Linked DNA regions of Homo sapiens: region 1 is linked to region 2. The links are contacts of gene promoters, found by promoter capture Hi-C in human tissues and cell types (Jung and others, 2019). All regions are on one chromosome and are shown on one strand. Each heading gives the region's core, a stretch centred on a gene start or on the middle of the fragment in contact. The rest is flanking DNA. Distances are from core to core; before and after follow the strand shown.

The links. The method cuts DNA at HindIII sites, captures the fragments that hold promoters and counts their contacts. A contact is called where the count stands out against the background at its distance.
Region 1: a fragment that was not itself captured here is called in contact with the fragment with the promoter of VSNL1 in region 2 in 1 of the 25 tissues and cell types used here (pancreas).

What each region holds. Positions count from the first base shown.
Region 1 is chr2:17,762,535-17,766,126 of GRCh38, forward strand. It overlaps GEN1 (GEN1 Holliday junction 5' flap endonuclease), which reads left to right. Exons shown (of 14, transcript NM_001130009.3): 4 at 2,363-2,539. It overlaps LOC105373449 (a long non-coding RNA gene), which reads right to left. Exons shown (of 4, transcript XR_939762.3): 4 at 1,923-2,113. Among named protein-coding and RNA genes, the nearest start is that of GEN1, 10 kb to the left of the region's middle. The HindIII fragment of the contact is 5,353 bases long and covers 1-3,592 here.
Region 2 is chr2:17,539,042-17,542,944 of GRCh38, forward strand. It overlaps VSNL1 (visinin like 1), which reads left to right and starts at 1,655. Exons shown (of 4, transcript NM_003385.5): 1 at 1,655-1,877. RefSeq lists an enhancer at 1-79. The HindIII fragment of the contact is 10,007 bases long and covers 1-3,903 here.

The sequences.
Region 1 (3,592 bases), core at 613-3,112, 220 kb after region 2:
TTTTAAAGAGTTGTAGTAGTACACATGATTTTTAACCTAGCCTTTTCACTTAATGCTTCATGTTGTCATATTTCCCTTTTGTCACATTCTAATCAAAATCATAACTTGTAGTGGTTGTGCAACATGTATGAAGCTATGAATCATACCCCTGATTGTATATGTTATTTACTTTTTTAGTTTTTCTCTACTATACATGGAAGTGTGATTAACATTTTTTGTGTATATAATGTTTTCTTGTGATTTGAAATTTTAGATAAAATTACCCAATGTTGGATTGATGGGTCAAAGTTTTGGAATGATTTTATTGCTCTTGCTGATTAATTTCTGCTAATGCAGATGTCAGAGAAGCAGTGTCGGTGCACTCACAAGAACATTGGATGTTAGGAGGCTTGTCTTTGTAATATTTAGTGTGCAACAACAAAGATATTTAATATGCATTTGTCTTTTAATAGTAATGTTAAACATTTCATCTATTTTTAGTCTCCCTTTGGGTAATGGCTATCATCATGTCCTTTACCTACTTACCTCTTGAGGTTTTAATTTTTCTTTTGTGCAAGTTCTTTATGTATTAAGGATATAAGCTTCTATCATATTTGCTTTGAATTTGTTTTTCTTTTTAATTTTAGTTAAAAAATTATGCCATTTTTCTCCTCTTCTGAAATTTTATTTTCTACTCACTTTTAAAAATAGTTTTCAATTAGTGAATATTCCACCCTAATGACTATCAGCAGTTGAAGAAAATATCTGTGCTAAGTTCTAATTACTTCTTGTATAATCAATTCCTGGAAATATTCATGGTCCTCAATCTTAGAGTGTTAAAGAACCAGCATAAAACAAAAAAAGAGATGTCCATCTCTTCTTAAGAAAATTGCTCCATTCCTGTTTCTTTATTGCTGCAGTAATTATGGTGTTCTTAGGCATTTTGTGTCAGTTCAGTATTGCCTGTTAGTCATTTTTATATTTCTGTACTCTTCAGTTACTAGGCCCTGCTTCCTCCTAATCCACTGCTATCTTTTAGGTATTCGCATGAAAAGCACAAATTAGTAGTCCTCCAATACCACCTCCACCCCACATGGTAGAGACATAGAGTGGGAAAAATTGCAACAGCCTTATAGGAAATTCTGTGCTGGTTCTTTGAAAAAATTTGAAGTGGCAAATAGTACAAGAAGTTGAAATAACTGTATTATGAAAGGCTATTTTTTACCTAGGGGTAAGGTCGAAGCAACACTGTCACAAAACTGTCTCTCTAAAATCACGGGGCCAGCGTCCTGAAAAGTGATATTTTTCAACATAGTACTTTGACTTTTTGAACCTTGTCTGCCTTGGGCAACATCTGACAGTGGTAGTTATTATGTAATGTGGCGTGGAAGTGATTAATCAAAGCAAGAAATGGTATTTATTCTGTCAGTCTCTAGAAACTACAAGTAAGTAGCCTTTTCTCCCCACCATACTCAGTAGTCCCTGATAGAGAATGATACATGACAAAAAAGAATGGCGTATTACAAGAAAGAATGAACTAGGCTATAAGGCCAGACTACAAGCTACCCAGCGGGGTTAAATTCATAAACCAGAGGAAAGTCACAGCAAATTATTTGTGCATCAGCAAAATGATGTAATCATTCTGCACAAACATTTGATTTCCTAGGAGGACACTGACAGCTGACTTCTCCGCAGTTTCCCACAATACGAGAGTTTCATTGTACAGGGAAGGCAAGATGAGAAAAAAATGCAAACATTAAAATTCAAGCCAAAACTGTATGATAGCATCTTCTTTGGAAGTACGCGTATTGGGTTGACCATCATGTGAGAAAAATTATTGAAGTCTTCTAGATGTAAATCTTAATATGATTAATTATTATTTAAAGATATTTTCAGAATCTGACTATAATAGCAATGAAATGTGAATATGGATTACTTTGTAATTAACATTAAAATCTTAATTTTTTATTACAGAAAATTTAAATCAACACAAAAGTAACCCATCACTAATCTTAAACCATTATCTTGGCTCATCTTGTTTCATCTATTCCCCTATCCACACATCATTTTGAAGCAAATCGTAGACATAATATTGTATCATTCCCTGTATTTCATGTTTTCTAAAAGATGATTCCTAAAAAATAAAAAGAAACATAACCACAATATAATTTTTATTAGCACACGTAAAAGTTTGGCAGTTCATTCCTTAAAGCCCTCAAATATTCAGTCATTGTTCAAATTTCCAAGTGTTTCTTAAATATCGTAATTTTTAAAACACCAAAATAGCTACTATTAATATTTGTAATACAGAAATAGGTTTAATAGTAAATAAATGAGCAGTGAAAACATTCTTTAACATCTTGCACCTGCTTTTTGTTTTCAGTGCCTCCATATGCTCGAATGCTTAGGAATCCCCTGGGTTCAGGCTGCTGGGGAAGCTGAAGCCATGTGTGCTTATCTCAATGCTGGTGGTCATGTCGATGGCTGCCTCACCAATGATGGAGATACTTTCCTTTATGGGGCCCAGACTGTTTACAGGAATTTCACTATGAATACAAAGGTGTTTATTTTCTTTCTCTTTTTCAGCATTTGTTTACGAACTACCTTTTTTAAAGGGCTGATTAAATGAAATAGTAGATATAAAATGCTTACTGTAATGCCTTGCACGTAGCAATTGCTAATTAAAATGCTTACTGTTATTAAAAATCATTGCCACATAGTTCATTCTCTTCAAAATGTGGATTTATCTCATAAGAACTTGACTTGTTTGTTTCACATGGTTTGATTCTAAATCATTTTCAAAAATACATCACGAATTGCATATGAAAATGTGTTGCTTTGATCCTGAATTTCCAGTTTAGTGTTTCATCCTCAGAAATACCTCCAAATATGCAAAGAGAGAGATATAAAGATGTTCAATGTAGCATTGTTAATAATTACAAAAATTTGGCAAGCAGCCCGAGTGCTCATTGATAGGGACATGGTTAAATCCTTCACACTTACTGGTTCCCAGTTGGAGAGATACTGCTGGGAGACATTTTGGTTGCAACAGTTCAGGCTTGGGCAAAGGAGAGTATAGATATGTGATGGCTTGGTGCCAACCAAACTAAACCTTCTGCCAGACATTTCTGCTATCCCTCCCGAAATGCTAATATTAGCACCCCCATTGAGAAACACTGTTTCAGAGTCCATATGATGTAATACAGTGCAGTCATTGAAAAGGCTATTATTGACATAAAAGATATCCAGACATATTAATGGTGGAAAATTTCTCAAAATAGTATTTTTATATAATCCTACTTTTACTTAAAAAACGTAATTAACAATAAATATTCATATATATGTATCAAAGGAGATGGTTTTTTGGAAGAATATGCACCAAGCTATTAATGATAGCTCAGGCAGTGCAGTTACGGGGAATGTTTACTTTCTATAATATATATATATATATATGTTACAGTGTTTTATTTTGTAAGATGGAAATCTACATTTTTTAGACACCAGAAAGCAATAAAATGGAAAAAATTGGCTAGCATAGTTATTTTTAAGCCATTTTTGAAACTACAACTTTATTTTCATATATTGAAATGTCAGATTCTATAAAGATTCTGCT
Region 2 (3,903 bases), core at 405-2,904:
CCAGCACTGGCGGAAGAGCCCTGCCGAGAGGGGACAGCCGCGGGCGGTGTCCCGGGAGTCCCGAGAGCGCGCTCCCCCTTTGCGCAACCTTCCCGAGGCGTCCTGCCCGGGAAGCCAGTTCCTGGGTTCTGGGCTGGCTAGGTTGGCAGCGAATGAGGCTTAGGCATCACTGCCTGAGGCCCTCACTTAGCATGTCGACAGCCACAGACTTGTCTGGCGGAGTTTCTCCTGGTGCCCACTTAAGTAGTCTCAAGTTTGTTCAAAGCTGGACTCCTCGACTTGGAACCAGGAGCAGCTGGAGATTTGTCAATTTAGAGCTCATTTGCCACGGGAGACGCTCTTGGTGTCCCCAGCACCGAAGGGTAGGTCAACTCTACAGTTTTCCTGAACATGATAAGGTGTGTGAAGACGCTGTGCAAATTGTACAGCGCTCTGCTTAAGGAGAACCTCGATCTTCATCTCGCCCCCAGAACTTCCCTCCCTTGAAAATAAAACTCCCACCTGAATGTAAAGCCCAGGAGGGGGTTTTGTTAACCGCACTTATTCCCAAAGCATAAAGGAATGTCTAATAGTTTTGCAAATGCTTCCATGAATAATTGTTGAATGAGTTCATGTACAACATACACACTTGAGGAAAACTGGTCTGGTTGGGAACATCTGGGAATTCTCCTTGCTTTTCTGGTAGGGAAGCGACCGACCAAACATTTATTGGGCACTACTCCTTGCCAAGCCTTCTAGGCTTTGGCAGGCCAATGGGGAGCCGGGGGGAGGGCTGGCAAACCTGTTAGTTGTTCAAGGACACAAAGGGGGCTTTATAAGATGGCCTAATCAGAGCCCTTAAACGTGGGTTCGCAAAATGGTTCATTCCCGCCCTTTCACCCACCCCCTCCCACCCCAGACGCAAAGCATATGTTAAAAACACTTAAGTGCATACAGAAGGCGCTTGGCTCAGGGTACACAGGGCAAGAAGCCTCGGATCCCAGCTCCCTTTAACACACATTTTTTCAACGCCGTTCTGGACCGAGACTGTCCGGGGCACTGGGTGCTGCAGGACCCGGCTCCCAGTACTCCTAGCAGAAGACCCTCTGATGAAATGGCCCATGACAAAATGACCACCATAACCGTTCCTTCAGTAAGCCAGGTAGACGTGCTCACAGCTTGCTGGGAAGTCTTCTTTCGGAGATTTCTGCAGTTTTCTCCTTCACCTTACAGCCTAACAAAGGGTGGGCCGGGGGTCGGCTAGGACAGAAAGCAGCGGGAAAAGCGGCTCCACGTGTTCCATCTCTGGCCTCGGCCTTCAGCCCCCAGGTTCGGTAACCACTGGGCGTGGCGAGTCCGGGTAACCCGCAGTCCCTCGCGCCCGTCCAGGTGCGGGTTGCTCCGGTAGCCGGACTCCCTTTTCCTATATACTTTCCTTTTGAGCTTTTGCTAAAATCTGGAGACGTGGAATCCACCCGCGGAAACTCCGAGCCCCTCCGACTGAGCATGCGCCATCGCCAGGCGGCTTTTGGTCACAGGCTCCCGAGTTCTCCTAGCTGGGGCTGCGGAGCTGGGGGGAGGGAAGAGAGGAAAGGGGAGGGGGTGCCTGGAGAGGCGGAGGCTCGCGCGCCTGCGCATCCAGCTCCAGGGACCCTAGGTTTTCTATGGGATTCCCAATCTGCAGCAGAGATTTACCCGAGCGTGTTGCGGCAGCGGCTGGGCTTGCAAGGCGCGATCCAAGAGGGATTTAAGCAGCCCAGAGCTCCAGAGAAAAAGAGAGCGAGAGAGAACCACACACAGAGACGGCTTAAGCGTTTACCCGAATTAAATATATATTTTTAAAAAGAACTGTTGAGTTTTATCATTTTCGTTAAGTGACCGTGCGCAGCGCTGTAACTGTAAGTGGAAAATACAATCTTCGTTGCATTTCTGCATGTGTAGTGCAACCAACTGTCAGAGAAATGCTTTGGCTATTGTCACATACTTTGCTTTGCATAGATGCGTCTAAATGCATGGGGACAATTTCCTTGCTTAATGCTGGCGATCTGAATGTGCTCTTAGTCCATGGGGGATCTTTTGGAATATTGGGGGTGGGGGAAGGGGGAGTGTTTATATGCGGCGTGTTTGGGGGATTGTCTTAGACTAGATTTAAGACAGGTGAAACTGAGATGCTTTCTTAGTTTGTCTTAGACAGATTTAAGTAGCTAATTGACCGATTGTGAAGTTTTCCGGTTGCTGATAAAACTATTGAGCGGGTACAGTCGAGTAGCAACCTGTCATCCGTGGGATTGGTGCACCATTTTTCTCACTGTGGAAGGGCAGCAAAGGTGTTTGCTAAGTAAAACTGAGTGGATGAGATTGGTATGGAAATCATGGTTGATCTCTGAGCGGGATGTTAGTGTTTAAGATCCACGGAGTCAGGCGCAAAATGAGCACATTTCTCTCAGTATTCAGAAATGAGTAGATAATTTTTTTCGTCTTTGATTTTTGTCACAATGGTGAATGGGCAGAAAAGGGAAAGATGCTCTACTGCACTGTCGATTTTGAACGGAGTCACAGGCTCGGTCGCTGAATGGGGACTGTCAGACCCAAACTAGTTACCTGCCTTTGCATTCCGTGTTCGCCATCCGGAATCTGGGGTTAAAAAATGTAAATCAAGGTGTGTTACATTTGGTAGTATTTCTTTAAAGGATAAAAGGTCGTTTTGTGTTTTGAGTTAAAATGGGTTGTTCCTTGCCCAGAAACTGGAAGAAGGGTCTTTGCAAGGTCAAACCCCGGGTGGAAATCAGAATGATGAATACCCTCAGGGGTACAAGAATGTGTACGTGGAAGGAGCGAGGAGAGGCTGATGCTCCCTGCATGGTGGAAATGATGAGTGCTCCGCATTGCCTGATCAGTGCCCTGTGAGATGCCAGAGTGGGAATCCATTTTTCTAGAGTTGCCCTCCTGTCCGTATTTTGGAAACTAAAATAAAATAGAATTGTTGGTGGTTGTGGAGAACACTAAGTACATACTATTTGTGTATCACTTTCCAGTTGAAGGCAAGAAAAGCTGGGGAGTTTTATTTCTACATATTAATATTTATTTTAATTTCTAAAGGAATTTCAGGTTGAGACAAATTTAAAATGAAACTCTTGTGAAAACACATTTTACCCCCACTATCATTTAAACTGCCTACGTGTGTTTGTGTGTGTGTGGTGGGGGGGAGTAGGGGGTGATCCTACATCATTGAACAACTTACTTTTGAATGCACTCTCATTAAGCCTTGGGTATTTAATAACCCCAGAAAATGCTGCACTGAAGCAGGTTGGCAGAATGGGCATGAGGCAGAAAGATGAGAAAAAAGCATGGCTAGTGCGTGCTGGATTTCCACGAAATAAGCAAATCCAATTTTGGGGATGAAATGAAATAAATTTTCCCTCAAATCGGGTGTGGGGGCCATCAAATAGGGCTCTTTGGCCCTTTGATCAGTCCAACCATTTGGAACCCCTCAAAGGAATTTATAATTTATTTAAATGGATGAAATTTGTAATTGAAAATTCGAGAAGAACCTCTCATTGGAAATCCACAGTATAAATCATACTGCCTTGTCTATTCCTTCTTTCCTTACTCCAGGGCAGAAGGACTAATCATTTGTCATAATTGAGCCATACTCCCTGTCATCATTGAGCATTGGCATCAGTTCGATGAATGGTGCAGGTGTTGACACTGCATTGATAAAGAGGGGTGGTAGAGGAAAAAGGGGGGAATTAGGTATCAAAACTGATAAATGCTTGGTCTTGGAGTCCCTGGCTCATAGGTTGACAGAGAGGATCAAGTTAGGCAGAGACCCTGTAAGGTATCTAGTCCAAACCCCTTGCTTTGTAGATGAGGAAACTGAGGCCCAGAACCATGGATGTAGAGAAAAGTCAATTAACTTCTAGT